Linked DNA regions of Homo sapiens: regions 1, 2, 3 and 4 are each linked to region 5. Evidence: promoter capture Hi-C in 16 types of primary human blood cells and fetal thymus (Javierre and others, 2016). All regions are on one chromosome and are shown on one strand. Each heading gives the region's core, a stretch centred on a gene start or on the middle of the fragment in contact. The rest is flanking DNA. Distances are from core to core; before and after follow the strand shown. Region 1 has its middle 190 kb from the start of LINC02947. Region 2 overlaps LOC105375821 (a long non-coding RNA gene). Region 3 overlaps LOC105375821 (a long non-coding RNA gene). Region 4 overlaps LOC105375821 (a long non-coding RNA gene). Region 5 holds the start of SNAI2 (snail family transcriptional repressor 2).

The links. Contacts are between HindIII fragments. The CHiCAGO score rates a contact against its expected background, and 5 or more counts as called.
Region 1: a contact is called between a fragment that was not itself captured here and the fragment with the promoter of SNAI2 in region 5, in 9 of 17 cell types (M0 macrophages, M1 macrophages, M2 macrophages and 6 more). The highest score is 15.1, in M0 macrophages.
Region 2: a contact is called between a fragment that was not itself captured here and the fragment with the promoter of SNAI2 in region 5, in 4 of 17 cell types (M2 macrophages, M1 macrophages, M0 macrophages and 1 more). The highest score is 7.6, in M2 macrophages.
Region 3: a fragment that was not itself captured here is called in contact with the fragment with the promoter of SNAI2 in region 5 in 4 of 17 cell types (M0 macrophages, M1 macrophages, endothelial precursors and 1 more); the score reaches 10.4 in M0 macrophages.
Region 4: a contact is called between a fragment that was not itself captured here and the fragment with the promoter of SNAI2 in region 5, in 4 of 17 cell types (endothelial precursors, M1 macrophages, M0 macrophages and 1 more). The highest score is 15.3, in endothelial precursors.

The regions. Positions count from the first base shown.
Region 1 is chr8:48,330,873-48,333,910 of GRCh38, reverse strand. No RefSeq gene overlaps it. Among named protein-coding and RNA genes, the nearest start is that of LINC02947, 190 kb to the left of the region's middle. The HindIII fragment of the contact is 7,499 bases long and covers 1-3,038 here.
Region 2 is chr8:48,348,472-48,351,567 of GRCh38, reverse strand. The region is part of intron 1 of LOC105375821 (a long non-coding RNA gene); the gene reads right to left. Among named protein-coding and RNA genes, the nearest start is that of LINC02947, 170 kb to the left of the region's middle. The HindIII fragment of the contact is 1,860 bases long and covers 354-2,213 here.
Region 3 is chr8:48,390,928-48,394,202 of GRCh38, reverse strand. The region is part of intron 2 of LOC105375821 (a long non-coding RNA gene); the gene reads right to left. Among named protein-coding and RNA genes, the nearest start is that of LINC02947, 130 kb to the left of the region's middle. The HindIII fragment of the contact is 3,631 bases long and covers 176-3,275 here.
Region 4 is chr8:48,407,091-48,410,427 of GRCh38, reverse strand. All of the region lies in intron 2 of LOC105375821 (a long non-coding RNA gene), which reads right to left. Among named protein-coding and RNA genes, the nearest start is that of LINC02947, 110 kb to the left of the region's middle. The HindIII fragment of the contact is 470 bases long and covers 1,744-2,213 here.
Region 5 is chr8:48,919,533-48,922,760 of GRCh38, reverse strand. It overlaps SNAI2 (snail family transcriptional repressor 2), which reads left to right and starts at 1,332. Exons shown (of 3, transcript NM_003068.5): 1 at 1,332-1,574; 2 at 2,320-2,865. The coding sequence starts at 1,496. It overlaps LOC107986942 (a long non-coding RNA gene), which reads right to left and starts at 1,204. Exons shown (of 4, transcript XR_001745895.3): 1 at 560-1,204; 2 at 1-71. RefSeq lists an enhancer at 1,142-1,221. The HindIII fragment of the contact is 2,868 bases long and covers 1-2,590 here.

The sequences.
Region 1 (3,038 bases), core at 98-2,597, 590 kb after region 5:
TATAATTTCTTATGCTTGTCTTTACTTCAATCTCTAAACATAAATTGTAAAGATTTCATGGACACTTATCACTTCCCCAATCAATACCCTTGTGATTTCCTATGCCTGTCTTTACTTTAATTTCTTAATCCTGTCAGCCAAGGAGGATGTATGTCACCTCAGGACCATGTGATAATTGCATTAACTGCACAAATTGTATAGCATGTGTGTTTGAGCAATACGAAATGTGGGCATCTTGAAAAAAGAACAGGATAACAGCAATTGTTCAGGGAATAAGAGAGATAACCTTAAACTGTGACCGCTGGTGAGCCAGGTGGAACAGAGCCATATTTCTCTTCTTTAAAAAGCAAACGGGAGAAATATTGCTGAATTCTTTTTCTCAGCATGGAACACCCCTGAGAAAGAGAATGTGTGCCTGCAAGTAGGTCTCTGAACTGGCCCCCCTAGGCGTAAGCCATCTTTTATGGTCAAGGCTGCAGAGATGAAATAGACTCCAGTCTCCCATAGTGCTCCCAGGCTTATTAGGAAGAGGAAACTCCCACCTAATAAATTTTGGTCAGACCAGTTGATCTCAAAACCCTGTCTCCTGATAAAATGTTATCAATGACAATGGTGCCGAAACTTCATTAGCAATTTTAATTTCGCCTCGGTCCTGTGGTCCTGTGATCCCACCCTGCCTCCACTTGCCTTGTGATATTCTATTACCCTGTTAAGTACTTGATGTCTGTCACCTACACCTATTCGCACACTCCCTCCCCTTTTGAAAATCTCTAATAAAAACTTGCTGGTTTTTGTGGCCTGTGGGGCATCACAGATCCTACCAATGTGTGAAGTCTCCCCCGGACACCCAGCTTTAAAATTTCTCTCTTTTGTACTCTGTCCCTTTATTTCTCAAGCCGACCGACGCTTAGGGAAAATAGAAAAGAACCTACGTGATTATCAGGGCAGGTCCCCCGATAACATGGCACATGTATACATATGTAACAAACCTGCATGTTGTGCACATGTACCCTAAAACTTAAAGTATAATAAAAAAAATAACTAATGAGTACTAGGCTTAACACCTAGGGAATGAAATAATTGATACAACAAACCCCCATGATACAAGTTTACCTATGTAACAAAAATAAAAGTTAAAAAAAAATCTTTCCCATCTGACCTGCCGCTCTGTCACTCCAACCCTGTCTGGGCTCATTCTCAGGTCCTGCTTTAATTGCCATCTCATTATCTCACTGGAGGGAGATATTTCCACAGAGCACATCTGCCCGGAGCTTGACAACTCTTGACAATGGGTTCATAACCCATTTTGTGTAGCCAGTTAGAAGTGTGGAGCTGGGCTCGCCTGTGGGAGTGAGCGAGTCCACACAGGGTTCCAGGGTGCTGTCGGCTGCTCACTTGTGCTCAGTCTGGGAAGGACTGCTGGAGATGAGCAACTCGGAGCAGGGATTGGGGAGGACCATTCCCACGCCCACAATGTGAACATCTTTTTTACTCTTCTAAGCAGACTATCTGTTTGCCTGGATCTGACAGCTGAATCCCTAGGACATAGAGAAGGGTTTTTTGTTGTATGAAAAAAAATAAATCAATTACCCTTATAACCACAATGGCACAGTTAACTACTGAAGTCCAATTCTCACAGATCACAGGTTTTTCGAGAAAGTGAGCCTCATTATTCTTGGACAGAGGAGCACTTTGAGTGTTTTCTCATTCTGTCTCCAGGCGCCACCAACACTGGAAAACATGGCTAAGTGGGTTGTTTGGCAAACAGACACCTCACACCTTATGCCTTTCCCAGGCACACACTCTTCCCACGCCTGCATTTCTGGGGCTGATTCCTGTTCCCTTTGCAGACGCAGAACTTGCTCCAGAGCTGGCACTATGGGCTTCTGGCTGTCTGGGCCCTGGCCGGGTCCAGAAGCAGAGGTGTGGTTTGATGAGTTGCACTTCTGGGATTATTTGGAGAGGGGAGAAAAAGGAGAGGGAAAAGAGCTCAAACTGTCTCTATGATGGCCCAGGTTGTGTTCAAAGACAGAAACAGGACCTGGGCTCAGAGGATGAGCTGGTCAGGAAATGAGCTCTCTACATGATGAAGCAGACAGCCCTGGATACTTTGGAGGGCAGTGGCCAGGGGCTACTTTTACACTCAAAGAAACACATGTAACCATCTGGGAGAGGCAGTGTGTATTGCACCTGCCTGGTTAGAAGACTGAAGGTGTCTCACTGCTTTTCTTCCTCTCGGGCTTCTTGTGCCCCATCCTCTTGCAGTCCTCATTCTTACTCGGTAAGGTGCCATTCTCCTGCCAACAAGATGACAATCTCTGCAGGAACACTTCTGTTTAAAATTATACATTTCAGTGAGTCAAAGTTGTCCTGCAAGGTAACTGAAGACAGCTGCACTCATCAGAATCTCGCACCCCATACATTGTGCTTTGGGGTTAGTGATTCAAGCACTATTTGAAGTAGTATACTGTAGAACTTAACTCTCCTCCCACCCACCTCCCATCACACTTTAAAATCTGTCTGAATTCTTAAAGCAGATGGGTGGGAGCACCATGATTACCCAGGACCATCGTACTCTCTGCACAGCAGAATTTCCTTTTGAGGCCCTCTCATTATTCTTGACTCATATTACCTTTTTGAGTAGGTGGCCTCTGAATTACACTTGTCCCCTCTCATTGTGATAGACAAGATAAAATATGAGAAACAGACCTGCAGAGAATAACGTCCTTGAAACTCTTGCAGCATTTCTCTGAAAGGTCCACCTACTGCATGGTCAAATCCTGCTGTATAGAGACACACCCGCGATTTTGCTGAGAATTGAGGATCAAACACCTATGTCAAGGTTCAAACTGGTCTACTTTTATTCATGATGTAAGGGAAACCACGGTGCTTTATTTAGTTTCATGGTGCTTTATTTAGTTTCAATCATGGTGCTTTATTTAGTTTCAATCTCTATCTACCTATCTACCTCGGTTGCTAGCCATTTCAAAGATGAACTAGGACTAAAAGAAGAAGTGTCTCTAGACTACGATTACATC
Region 2 (3,096 bases), core at 34-2,533, 570 kb after region 5:
GGAATGCCATTGTGGTGACAATTAGGAATGGTGACAGAGGGCATCCATCTGTCCCCATGATTTTCAAGGGGAATGCTTCCAGCTTTTGCCCATCCAGTATAATGTTGTCTGGGGGTGCGTCATAGATGGCTCCAGTTATTTTGAAGAAAGTTCCTTCAATACCTACTTTATTGAGAGATTTTAACATGAAGGGATGTTGAATTTTATTGAAAGCCTTTTCTGCATCTATTGAGAGATTATGTGGTCTTTGTCTTTAGTTCCACTTATGTGATGAATCACATTTATTGATTTGTGTATGTTGAAGCAACCTTGCATCCTGGGGATTAAGCTTACTTGATCATGGTAGATAAGCTTTTTTATGTGCTTCTGAAGTCAGTTTGTCAGTATTTTGCTGATGATTTTTGCATCAGTGTTCATCAAAGACATTCACCTGAAGTTTTGTTTTTTGTTGTGTTTCTGCCAAGTTTTTGTATCAGGATGATGCTACCCTCATAGAATGATTTAGGGAGGAGTCCCTCCTCCTCAATTTTTTAGAATAGTTTCAGCAGGAATGGTACCAGCTTTTGTTTGTACATTTGGTAGAATTCAACTGTGAATCTATCCGGTCCTGGGCTTTTTTTCATTGGTAGGCTATTTATTGCTGACTCAATTTCAGAGCTCATTATCGGTCTATTCAGGGATTCAGTTTCTTCTTCTTTCAGTCTTGTGAGGGTATGTGTGACCAAAAATTTATCTGTTTCTTCTGTGTTTTCTAGTTTATATTCATAGAGGTGTTCATTATATTCTTCAACTGTTATTTGTATTTCTGTGGGGCCAGTGGTAATATCCCCTTTATCATTTCTAATTGTGTCTCTTTGAATCTTCTCTCTTTTCTTCTTTATCCTATTTTATTGATTTTTTTCAAAAAACAGTTCCTGGATGCGTTGATCTTTTCCATGGTTTTTTGTGTCTTAATCTCCTTCAGTTCAAACTGGTTTTGGTTATTTGTTGTCTTCTGCTAACTTTGGTATTTGTTTGCTCTTGATTCTCTAGTTCTTTTAGTTGTGACATTAGGTTGTTAATTTGAGATCTTTCTAACTTTTTGATGTGGGCATTTAGTGGTATAAGCTCCCCTCTTAACACTACCTTAGCTGTGTCCCAGAAATTCTGTTATGTTGTATCTTTGTTCTCATTACTTTCAAAGAACTTCTTGACATCTGTCTTAATTTCATTATTTACTCAAAAGCCATTCAGGAGCAGCTTATTCAATTTCCATGTAATTGTATGGCTTTGAGTGAATTTCTTAGTCTTAATTTCTAATTTGATTATGCTGTGGTCTGAGACATTGTTCGCTATGACTTCAGGTATCTTGCATTTGCTGAGGAGTGTTTTGCTTCCAAATATCTGATCAGTTTTAGAGTATGTGCCATGTGGCAATGAGAAGAATGTATATTCTGTTGTTTTGGAGTAGAGGGTTCTGTAGATGTCGTCAGGTCTTTTTAATCTAGTGCTGAGCTCAGGTCCTGAATATCTTTGTTAACTTTTTGTATCAATGATCTGTCTAATATTGTTAGTGCAGTGTTAAAATCTCCCACTATTATTGTGTGGGAGTGTAAGACTCTTTGAAGGTCTCTAAGAACTTGCTTTATGAACCTGGGTGGTTTGTGTTTAATGCATATATATTTAGGATAATTCGATCTTCTAGTTGAACTGAACTTTTTATCATTATGTAATGCCTTTCTTTGTCTTTTTTGATCTTCGTGGTTTAAAGTCTATTTTGTCTGAAACTAAGATCGCAACCTCTGCTTTTTTCTATTTTCTATTAGCTTGGTAGATTTTTCTTCATCCCTTTATTTTGAGCCTATGTGTGTCATTGCATGTGAGATGGATCTCTTGAAGACAGCATACCATTGGGTCTTTATCCAGCTTGCCACTCTGTGCCCTTTAATTGGGGCATTTAGCCCATTTACATTCAAAGTTAGTATTGATGTGTGTGGATTTGTTCCTGTCATCATGATTTTAACTGGTTATTTTGCAGACTTGTTTATGTGGTTGCTTAATAGTGCCACTGGTCTGTGTACTTTGGTGTGTTTTTGTAGCAGCTGGTAATGGTCTTTTCTTTCCATATTTAGTGCTTCCTTCTAGAGCTCTTGTAATGCAGGTCTGCTGGTAACAAATTCCCTCAGCATTTCCTTGTCTGAAAAGGATCTTATTTCTCCTTCACTTATGAAGCTTGGTTTGGCTGGATATGAAATTCCAGGTTGGAATTTCTTTTCTTTAAGAAGTTTGAATATTGGCCCCAGATATATTCTGGTTTGCAGGGTTTCTGCTGAGAGGTCCAGTGTTAGTCTGAAGGGCTTCCCTTTGTAGGTTACCTGACCTTTCTCACTAGCTGCCATTAACATTTTTTTCTTTTATTTTGACGTTGGAGAATCTGATTATGTGTCTTGGGGATGATCTTCTTGTGAAGTATCTTAGTGGGGTTCTCTGCATTTGTTGAATTTGAATGTTGGCCTCTCTAGCTAGGTTGGGGAAGTTCTTATGAATGATATCCCCAAGTATGTTTTCCAAGTTGGTTTCATTCTCCCCATCACTTTCAGGGACACCAGTGAGTCATAGATTTACTCTCTTTAAATAATCTCACATTTATTGGAGGTTTTATTAATTCCTTTCCATTCTTTTTTCTCTATTCTTGTCTGACTGTCTTATTTCAGAAAGCCAATCATCAAGTTCTGAGATTCTTCCCTTTTCTTGGACTATTCTGTTATTAATACTTGTGATTGCATTATGAAATTCTTGTAATGTGTTTTTCAGCTCTATCAGGTTGGTTAAATTCTTTTTTCTATACTGGCTATTTTGTCTGTCAGCTCCTGTTTTGTTTTATCATGATTTCTAGGTTTTTTGAATTGGGTTTCAATGTACTCCTCTAGCTCAATGATCTTCCTTCCTATCCATATTCTGAATTCGATTTCTGTCATTTCAGCCATCTCAGCCCAGTTCAAAATACTTGCTGCAGAGGTGATGTGGTCATTTGAAGGAAAGAGGGCATTCCAGCTTTTAGAGTTTTCAGGGTTCTTGCACTGATTCTTTCTCATCTTTGTAGGCTTATCTCCCTTC
Region 3 (3,275 bases), core at 742-3,241, 530 kb after region 5:
CCTCGCTCCACCTGGGCTCGCTCTTATCACTCCATGCACAGACAGGCATTAGCTGAGGCAGGCAACAGATGATAGAGAACAGCACCATGTCCCCACGCTGCCACTTCACAGCATCCTTCCAGCAACCTGGAGTACTTCCCTTTCTAGAAAGGAAGAAACTCAGACTTTGAAAGCTTGCATCCCTCGCACAGTTAGGAGCTGAGAATTAGAACCCCAGGACTCCAGGCCTCCAAAGCCTGTGCTTTGGCCACGGCAGCACAGAGCTCCTCTGCAAAATGAAGCAAGTAAGAACTAGAAGTGACCAGGCACAGTGGCTCCCGCCTATAATCCCAGCATGTTGGGAGGCCGACGCAGGAGGACCACTTGAGCCCAGGAGTTTGAGACCAGCCTGGTAACATGGCAAAACCCCATCTCTACAAAAAATAAGAAAAATTAGCCAAGTGTGATGGTGCACACCCATCAGCTACTTTGGAGGCTGAGGTAGGAGGATCACTTGAGTCCAGGGTGATTGGGGCAATCATACTGCTACACTCCAACCTGGGCAACAGAGTGAGACCCTGCCTCCAAAAAAAAAAAAAGAACCAGAAGTCTCTCTTCCAGCTCAGCTCAATGTGCAATCATTTTAGGGTGAAAAGAGCTACAAATTCAGTTTCTTATTTAAAAAAAAAAAAAAACCATTAAACTAGGTCAGGAAAACAAAATGATACTTGGTGTAGCCTGGTCCAACTCTAAAGACTCATAATGGAACATCCAAATTGGTTGGAAAGGGGCAGAATTATCTGTAATTGTGCCCCGGTCATTGTGCAGGCCAGTTCTGGGCACACGGGAAGCCCAACACAGCCCCTCTTTGGCTGCCCAGAGATTCCCAGGGGCAGCAGAAACAGGGCCATGCTCCTCAGTACCCCCACCATGCCCACTTCTCACAGCACCCTGAGCCATGTTATAGGATTCGAGAGCTGACCCACTTGTGCAGGAAGGGTGCGCCTGTCTTACTCAGGGTGCCTTCCAGTTTGCAGCCAGTTCTCATGCTGGGCAATGAGGAGGATCCCACTGAAATCATCCGAAGTACTCATGGCCTGAGGCCCAGGCCACAGTAAGGAGATCAGGAAGCCCTCACTCATTGGTGCTGCCATGCTGATGATGTGAGTTCCAGCAACTCCTGGGTTGTTCTGAGCAGTCGTTGATGTGTGTCACCCATAGGAGCATGCGATGGGCACACTGGGTCCTGGGTACCCAGTGCCTCTCCTCCCCACCCTCAGAGCCCTTCCCAGTCACAGCCACTCTGACATCAGCCTCTGATTCTCTCTCCTCTGACAAGACTTGCAGAGACTTTTCTATGTTCGCCCTACTCGTAAGAGGAAGAAGTTTCTAGAGATGGGATTTCCGATGCTGCGAGAAGCAAAAGGTCCTATCTGCTGCCTGAAAGGCAGTTTTATATTCTGCATAATCATAAGAATGCCTCTGTCTTAAAGAGCAAATTTCTACTAAAATCAGACCTGTGTAGGGCAATGGATGAAGAGTCCCAAGCTCTGGCTGTGAGCTGATAAGCTGCCTGCCGCAGGCAACACTGAGCCCAGCCCAGTGCCTGACTTCCCAGGCTAGCACAGCTACAGGGACTTTCTTATTTGGGGTTTTCTTGGCCTCTGCGCAGATGCAGTGAAGCATGCTCAGGTCAGCAGGGAGATAGATGCTCTTAAAAACAAAAGCAAGAGTTGTTTCTTCCTTCTGGGTACAGGGGCATGTGTCAGATTCCAAGGGCAATTTTCCTAGCATCTCAGAGGTACCTCTAAGGGACTGGCTGTCTTCCCACTATTAGACTCACTTAGACCACCTCACAGCCGCAGCCATTCTTTGAGACTGGCTTTAGGGCAGCTCCAGAGGCAGCTCTGGTACAGAGGACGGAACCCTAGCCCAGAGCCCCAGAGAGCCACTGCTTTCCTGGCTGCACCTGCCTATCACAAAGCCCTGCCCTCCTGGGTCCTGCACGAACTCCCACTCCTCTCCACTGGGCCTCTGGGAAGACCTGCTGGCATGGAACGGCCATGTGTTCTGCACTGTCTCTGGCACTGCACTTCCCCAGCCCACCTAGGACCCAGAGCCTCACTAACCGCCTCTGAGGCCAGGTGGCTTCCTTGTGAATGCATAGCCTCTGGTAGGTTTGTGCACCAGCTCCTCCAGTGTGCCGGAGCTTTTGTGGCATGGACAATGGTTTCCTGCATTTACGTGCAGGCTCCCAGCCCACAAGGTAGACTCTGAGGAAAAGCAGCATGCCTTCTATGGCTCTGGTGACAACAAGAAATGCCAGACCCAGTAGTGGAAACAGCAAAGGGCCTTCCTGAGCAAACTCTTAAGACCAGCAAGAGTGCAATGAACAAAACTGTACATAGCGAAAGCCCCTGCAAAAGGCAGCTTATATTTACCACACCATAGCAATCTGCATGTGCAGAATGGGTCCAGGGATAGCATACAAATAATGTCTCATCACCTCATTGGAATTAGAAGTCAGAAGCATAATATCTGAACTTTCAAGTGACTACATTAAGGATAAATTCCTTGAAGATAGGAATTATATCTCATTGACCTTCTTAATCCCAATAGTCACAGGATAGAACACATTAAGAACTGAATGAATAAATGACAGCTGGTAAGAGAGGGGATGAGGAAAAGGAAAAAATAATATAGGTTAAAGCATTCAGTCACTAAATAAAAAGTTCATTTCGGGTTGTATTATTATTACGAAATGAGACAAGCATATCTACACAAAGCTCTTTCTACTCCACTCTTGAGACAAAGCATGACTCTGAGGAGCACGGGGCTTTGCAGCAGATCCTTGAAGCTGTCCTGCTCTGGTCCTTCCTGTGGGAGGGGACCCCCAGCATGCAGCACCTCAGTTCCCCTCTAGGCTTCTATTTCTAGGTTTTTGTTTTTGGGACAAGATATCTCTCTGTTGCCCAGGCTGGAGTGCAGTGGTGCAATCATGGCTCCCTGCAGCCTCGACCTTCCAGGCTCCAGCGATTACCCCACCTCAGCCTTTTAAGTAGCTGGGACTACAGGTGCACACCATCGTGTCTGGCTAGTTTTTTTATTTCTCTTTTTTATAGATGGGGCCTTGCTATGTTGCCCAGGCTGGATTCTATCTCCTGAGCTCAAGCGATCCTCCTGCCTCAGCCTCGCAAAGGTTTCTATTTCTATTCAGATGAAGAGCTTGAGTCAGCTAAATTTGACACCTCTTGTGAGATTCCAAAGGTTCAAAAACTACTGGAACATAAGGCAAA
Region 4 (3,337 bases), core at 729-3,228, 510 kb after region 5:
TCCTCCCATTTTTTTAAAGTTGTCTTTTCCTTGATTCAGCATTCTTTTGGTTACTGTAAACCTTTGACTGTTTTCCAGAGTTCTCACAGTTTCCGCTTGTTTTTGACATTTCTGTGGCGGGGCAGGAGCTGCCTATGCTTCCTCTGCCATTTTCCTAACCTGCCTTGCTGAGAGGGGATTTTTCAGAAGAGTTTTTGTTTTAATGGGGAGGAAGGGGTTCTATGATATTCGTGCTCAAGACACACGTACCTCAAGCCAAATAAGGGCACTTCACAGGCCCTGTGGCAACATGAAAGGCCTGTCAGAGAGGTCTTGGGGAATTGGACAGTTGTGACTACTTCTTGTTGAAAAAAGTCTAACCATGATAGGTTACCTAATCTGCCCTGACAGCAGAGCAAGGAGAACAGTCTAGAGCAGGACCTGCACTTCTACTGACAGGGCAAGTAATGGCCCATATCTCCATGAGCAACATTCCACAGTGCTGCTATTACAGCAAAAGCTGAGAGTTGGTTGAAGTGGTCAGGTAGACCACGCAAGTGTCTCCTTCTGAAATGGGTAAGGAAAAGGCAGCTTCTGAGCCCCTGGAGAGGTAACAATGTCAAATAATAACTGCACTAGACAAATGAGACCTTCCTGCCACCTACTCTCCTCCTTCCCAGCCCCTAACTCCAGAGTAGAAGGAAAGGGTGAAGAAATGTTCTCCTTTCCAGTGCCAGGTCCCCAGGCTAGATAAGGACTGAGATGGGGTCAGGGAGGGGAGACACTTTCAATTAGATGAGAGATCAAAGTTAGGATTTAATTCAGGCTTGACTTTGAATAGTTAGAAGTAAATAGGAAAACTATGATTTCTGCCTGAGATCTCCTCAAGAGCAATGAAGAAAACATCAATTGATTAATTAAAATTGGATTGTTTCCTGCTTTGCACTTTCCTAAGTCCATTCAATATATGGGTGACACACATAACTGGAATGTGAGTGGGGAAAAGGAGGGCAGAGAGAAGCAGGAAGTAGTCTGTTGTTTCACATTACAAGTCAGAAAAATTGGGGCAAGAATTCAAAGAAAATTTTAGCATGGTGCATTTAAAAACTTAGGGTGGAAATGTGTTCTCATGACACTGACTTCCCTGCTGTGTTATGGTAAGTGGGAAGGATGGATGTGAGCATGGGTCCACAGCTCCTCTCCAGAGAGGGCCCCTCCTCACTCTCAGGCCAGGACTCCTGGGGGTCTGCTGCTGGAATCCTGGTGAGGGCATGCCCCACCAGGAGCCTGTGTGGGAAACCATGTGCTCCTCGGTGGTTTCTTTAAACTTGGTGCCAGGGAAGCTTCAGCAAGTTGAACATCCCAGCTGTGCTCTGAGTGTGTGAGACGTCCCAACTCCAATATCCACCACAAAGTTAAGAAAGGAGAGAAGAGGAAAGGAAGCTGGAAGTTCTCTGAGTACTGGTAACTACCAAGCCCATCTGGACACAGGGGCTGTGGGGTGGCCTCTGCGAGAGCCACTCTTGTCTTCATGACTAAGGGGATGCCCAGCAGCATCTGCTCATCTTCTTCCGAAATGGACCCTGTTTAGGTTAGTCTTGCTGAGCACTTAGGTGCATGTCTTCCTGGTAATAAAATTGAAATAACGTATTTTCTTGGCTGCTCCATAAACTGTTCTATGAATTTATTCTACAGGAGAAAAGGAAGGAGGTGGAATAAATGTGGCATTGGCTTTTTGATTGTGGTTTTTATTTCCATAAAGCTTAGATCACAAGAATGCATGAGATATTTACACAAATCTTTCCACAATTCCTGTGGCCTGTGGGGGCATAGCATTTCTATGACTTCACCACCGTGGCTGGCGTGTGCTCTCTCAGCAACTTTGCTGGCGACAGGGAGCAGGCCCCACCAGGGCCTGTAGTTCTGGGGCAGAGCAGGCAAGGTTTGTGTGTACCTTATTTCTTCTTCCTTCCATGCTTTTTCTGTAGCAAATTCAACTTCGAAAAGCGGTCTGGGCTTTTCTCTATCATAAAACATGGTGAGTTTTCTTATCATTAAGTACTCACTCTTTCCTAGATCATTTCCTTGGGGATGATAAAGTCAGAGGATGATAACTGCGAAAAACCAGGCTTCATTCACCTTTGCCATGAGAAGACTCAAGGGCTGATCCATCCCAGGTGAGAGAAGCACGGGAAAAAGGCAGCTGTGAGGCAACAAGGCCCATCACACAAGCTTCTCAAGTGATTCAGATTTCTGTAGCTGCAACAGGTTCTCCAGCAGATGGGGGATGAAGCAGCCTGGGAGTCTCGGGCTGCGTGAGGCTAGACTCCAAGCTTCACATAGGCACAGGGTGCACAGCAGGGCCAGGTGGGCAGCCGCTGCAGGAAGACTACCTGCAGGAAGTCTTTAGACGCCAGCTGCACACACCAACATAAAGTAGCAGCAGTGTGTGCGGGTGATGGTTTCCAAGCCACCTGATGTGGAGCATAAATGACTCATCCCCTGTCCAGACACCACCCCGGCTTTTCTCACATTAGTCATCTTATTTCTTATTTCTCTGACTTTGCACTACTGCCCACTAAGAATGTTGGTATCATGATCATCACTTTAAATGATGGGGGACAGGGTTGGTAGAGGTTTGGGAACACACAGACCTCCTATGGCCATGGCCATTTGGCCACGTGAGCCCCTTCTGCACCCTCCTCCACCATCTGTGAGAGGCAGTGCACTTTGGGAGGAAAAGTATAACGTTTAGCCAAGGAGACTGGCATTTAGGTCCTGTCTTCACCACTTCTTAAGCGAGACACATGGTCAGCCTGCCTAGCCTCTCTGCCTCCTTTGCCTTGCCTGTGTAGTGGACATAACCACATCTACCTTGCTGAGCTTGCTGAGGATGGAATGCAGCTGCACTAGGGCAATGTCTGGGGCACAAGAGGTGTCTCAGCAAATGAAATCTGAATAAAGCTCCTGGTCTGAGCTGAGAACAAGCATCCTGTAATTCAGGTTTTAATTATCTTGATTCACCTAACATCTGCAGTGGGCAGAAAGCACTGGGGGCAGCTGTACCCGGCAGCCTGGCTGCCCCAGAGAGTGAGTGGGGCTCCTTCCACCCAAGAAACAGAACACTTTATCCACAGTAGGGAAATCTCAAGGCACCCAAGGGAAATTGTCCGGTGATTTACATGTGACCGTGTGGGCTTCACAGGTGGCAGGAAGAAGACCCAGTGTCCACACTGGGAGTAGGGAGCCCCTGAGAGGAGCCCTCAGGGTCCCAGCAGGAACATGAGTATGCCACATGCTCACATCTGCTCATCCATCTCCAAGGTCCCTTCACTACCTCCATCCCTTATGAGGTTTT
Region 5 (3,228 bases), core at 83-2,582:
CAATGCACTTTTCTCTGACAAGTCTTGACATCACCACTGTTATTTTCTTTTTCACTTTTTTCCTCCAGCACCTGTTAGAAACAAGAGTAGGGTGATCTTCATGTGAATTTGTTCTTTCCTTATTCTTTTAGCAAAAGATAGGGATAAAAGTCTGCAATGGACAGAGATGCTTTAAAATATGCTTGAAATTTTATATTTAAAATAAACCACCTGAAAGTATTTTTAGATTGAAGACCATACACAAAATAAAGGTGTTTTTGCAGTTACTAGACTGGGTTCTTAAAACTTTAATCAATCTATATTCATAATAATATCCTTCAATTTCTTTTTTAGCATTATACAGGAAACTGGTAGATACTGAGATGGATTTTAATGGCTTTATACTGATGAAAATAGCACCACATAAAAGCAGGGGAATATTAGAAATAAAAATAATTGTCTCTAAAGACCCATACAACCCTTTTTCCCATAAAAAAAAAGATGCACTGTAATACATGAAAAGATAAGATCTCTTGTCAAAAGTGTGAGAGAATGTCCGGTGGTTCCAAATGACAGTTACCTCTTGCCCCCCTTCTCTGCCAGAGTTCCTTTTTATCTTTGCAATCTTCCAGTTCTTCCGATCAGCCTGCCTTTAGAGGGCTACAAAGCATTTCTTTCAAGCCACCATAGCTAACACGGTGACATGAGTACTTAATTTGCACGCGGCCGCGCTGCCCCTGGCTTCGCGGAAGCCCTGAGTAGCGCAGCGCCCTCGCCGCACGCAAGGCTGCAGTCCCGCTCCAGGCCAGAGTCCCAGGAGAGCGTCCTCCGCGCTCACAGGCGCCTTTGTCTTCCCGCTTCCCCCTTCCTTTTTCAAAAGCCAAGAGGTAATTATTTGGTCTTTGTGCAAGGCAAACCTCTCCAGATGCCACTTCCAAATATAGGCTCTCATTAACACCAGAGGCTGGCCTGGTGTGGTGCAGGGCGGCCCTTCCTTCTCCTGGCGGACACTGTGTCCCCGCGCGCTGGCGCTGCACCACATCTGGAAGCCAGGCGGGCAGGGCAGAGACCCCGGCTCCTGCGCCCCTCCTAGCTCCCAGAGAGCGTGGATCGCGGGCGGGGCTCACCGAGCGAGGTTACCTCTCTTGAAAATACTTAAACACTTTTTTTCCTCTCCACTGAAATCTCAAAAAACAGCCCATTTTGAACCAGAATAATTTAGTCTGACAACAGATTCTTCCTCTGTTCACAGCTGTCCCAGAGGGAGGAGCTGAAATCTGAACCTCTCAGCTGTGATTGGATCTTTCTTGCAAAAGAGAGGAAAAAAAAACCCTCCCAGCCAAAACGGGCTCAGTTCGTAAAGGAGCCGGGTGACTTCAGAGGCGCCGGCCCGTCCGTCTGCCGCACCTGAGCACGGCCCCTGCCCGAGCCTGGCCCGCCGCGATGCTGTAGGGACCGCCGTGTCCTCCCGCCGGACCGTTATCCGCGCCGGGCGCCCGCCAGACCCGCTGGCAAGATGCCGCGCTCCTTCCTGGTCAAGAAGCATTTCAACGCCTCCAAAAAGCCAAACTACAGCGAACTGGACACACATACAGGTAAAAAGAGAAAAATATATCTAGAACTACGTATCTAGAGCTTTGCAAATATGAATCTACGTATTACCCTTCAAATACCATTACAAAAGAGCCAAAGATTCAACTGTTTTCCTTTTTAACAGTGTCCTGAAAGGGAGCTTACATTCTTTTGATCATTTAGGGTTCGTTTTAATTCAAAACTTTTAAAATTCTTGACTAACAAGGAACATTTCATTCAAATCTCGCAGCTTCGTTTGCTAAAGCCTGTGTATACATGCATAATGAGTATGTGAAAGATGAGCAACATAAGGATTGAATTACTGCGTTTTTCATGCACTAAGTCTCCTTTCCTTTAGAAGGCGGCTTGATGCAGGCATATCTTTGTACTCACGGTCGTAATACACCTAAATAGCCCATACGTAACATGGAAAACAACTTTTCTGTATGTTTAAAAATAATGTTGAGGCTCTCCTTCCTCAATGGGGACGGCGAAGGCACTGGCTTGGCTGCACTGTCTGACTTCAGAGCACCTATAGCTCCGTGCAGCTGTCAGCCTATGTGTGCATTAAGTACAGTAACTCCGTAGGTGCCAGGGTGGAAATGAAACATTTTACCAGTGTGTATGCCCTCCTAAATGGGTCTATCTTCTTCCTAAGAAAATCACGTGTGTGTTGCTAAATATCTTTCCAGTGTGTGTATACTTGCGTGTGGATTTATTTTTAATTATTTTTGCCTTAATCTTCTCTCCCTCCCTTTTCTTTCCCAGTGATTATTTCCCCGTATCTCTATGAGAGTTACTCCATGCCTGTCATACCACAACCAGAGATCCTCAGCTCAGGAGCATACAGCCCCATCACTGTGTGGACTACCGCTGCTCCATTCCACGCCCAGCTACCCAATGGCCTCTCTCCTCTTTCCGGATACTCCTCATCTTTGGGGCGAGTGAGTCCCCCTCCTCCATCTGACACCTCCTCCAAGGACCACAGTGGCTCAGAAAGCCCCATTAGTGATGAAGAGGAAAGACTACAGTCCAAGCTTTCAGACCCCCATGCCATTGAAGCTGAAAAGTTTCAGTGCAATTTATGCAATAAGACCTATTCAACTTTTTCTGGGCTGGCCAAACATAAGCAGCTGCACTGCGATGCCCAGTCTAGAAAATCTTTCAGCTGTAAATACTGTGACAAGGAATATGTGAGCCTGGGCGCCCTGAAGATGCATATTCGGACCCACACATTACCTTGTGTTTGCAAGATCTGCGGCAAGGCGTTTTCCAGACCCTGGTTGCTTCAAGGACACATTAGAACTCACACGGGTAAGAGAAAAACCATAGGCAGGAATGTTACTCTGAGATACAATGAAGCCCTGGGCTGGCTGTTGGATTTGCATGAAGTTGTGACATAGTGCTTTTAATGATGGACAGTCATTGATAGCTACTTCCTGACTACTCAAAAAGTTGTTAGGGCACAAAGTGCTCCATTTCTTGCTAACAACCTCTGCTCCAGGGACTGCAAACAGCATGTAGACTTTGGAAAGTAGATTCAGAAGGTTTGGTCTCAAAGATCAGTTAGAAAATCAGGAAAGATGTGCTTGAATGTGTGTTCTGTGAAACTGCCCCCAGTAATCAGCAAATACAAATGTTGCTATCTTAATCAATTGATTTGGTTAATAGATGAAG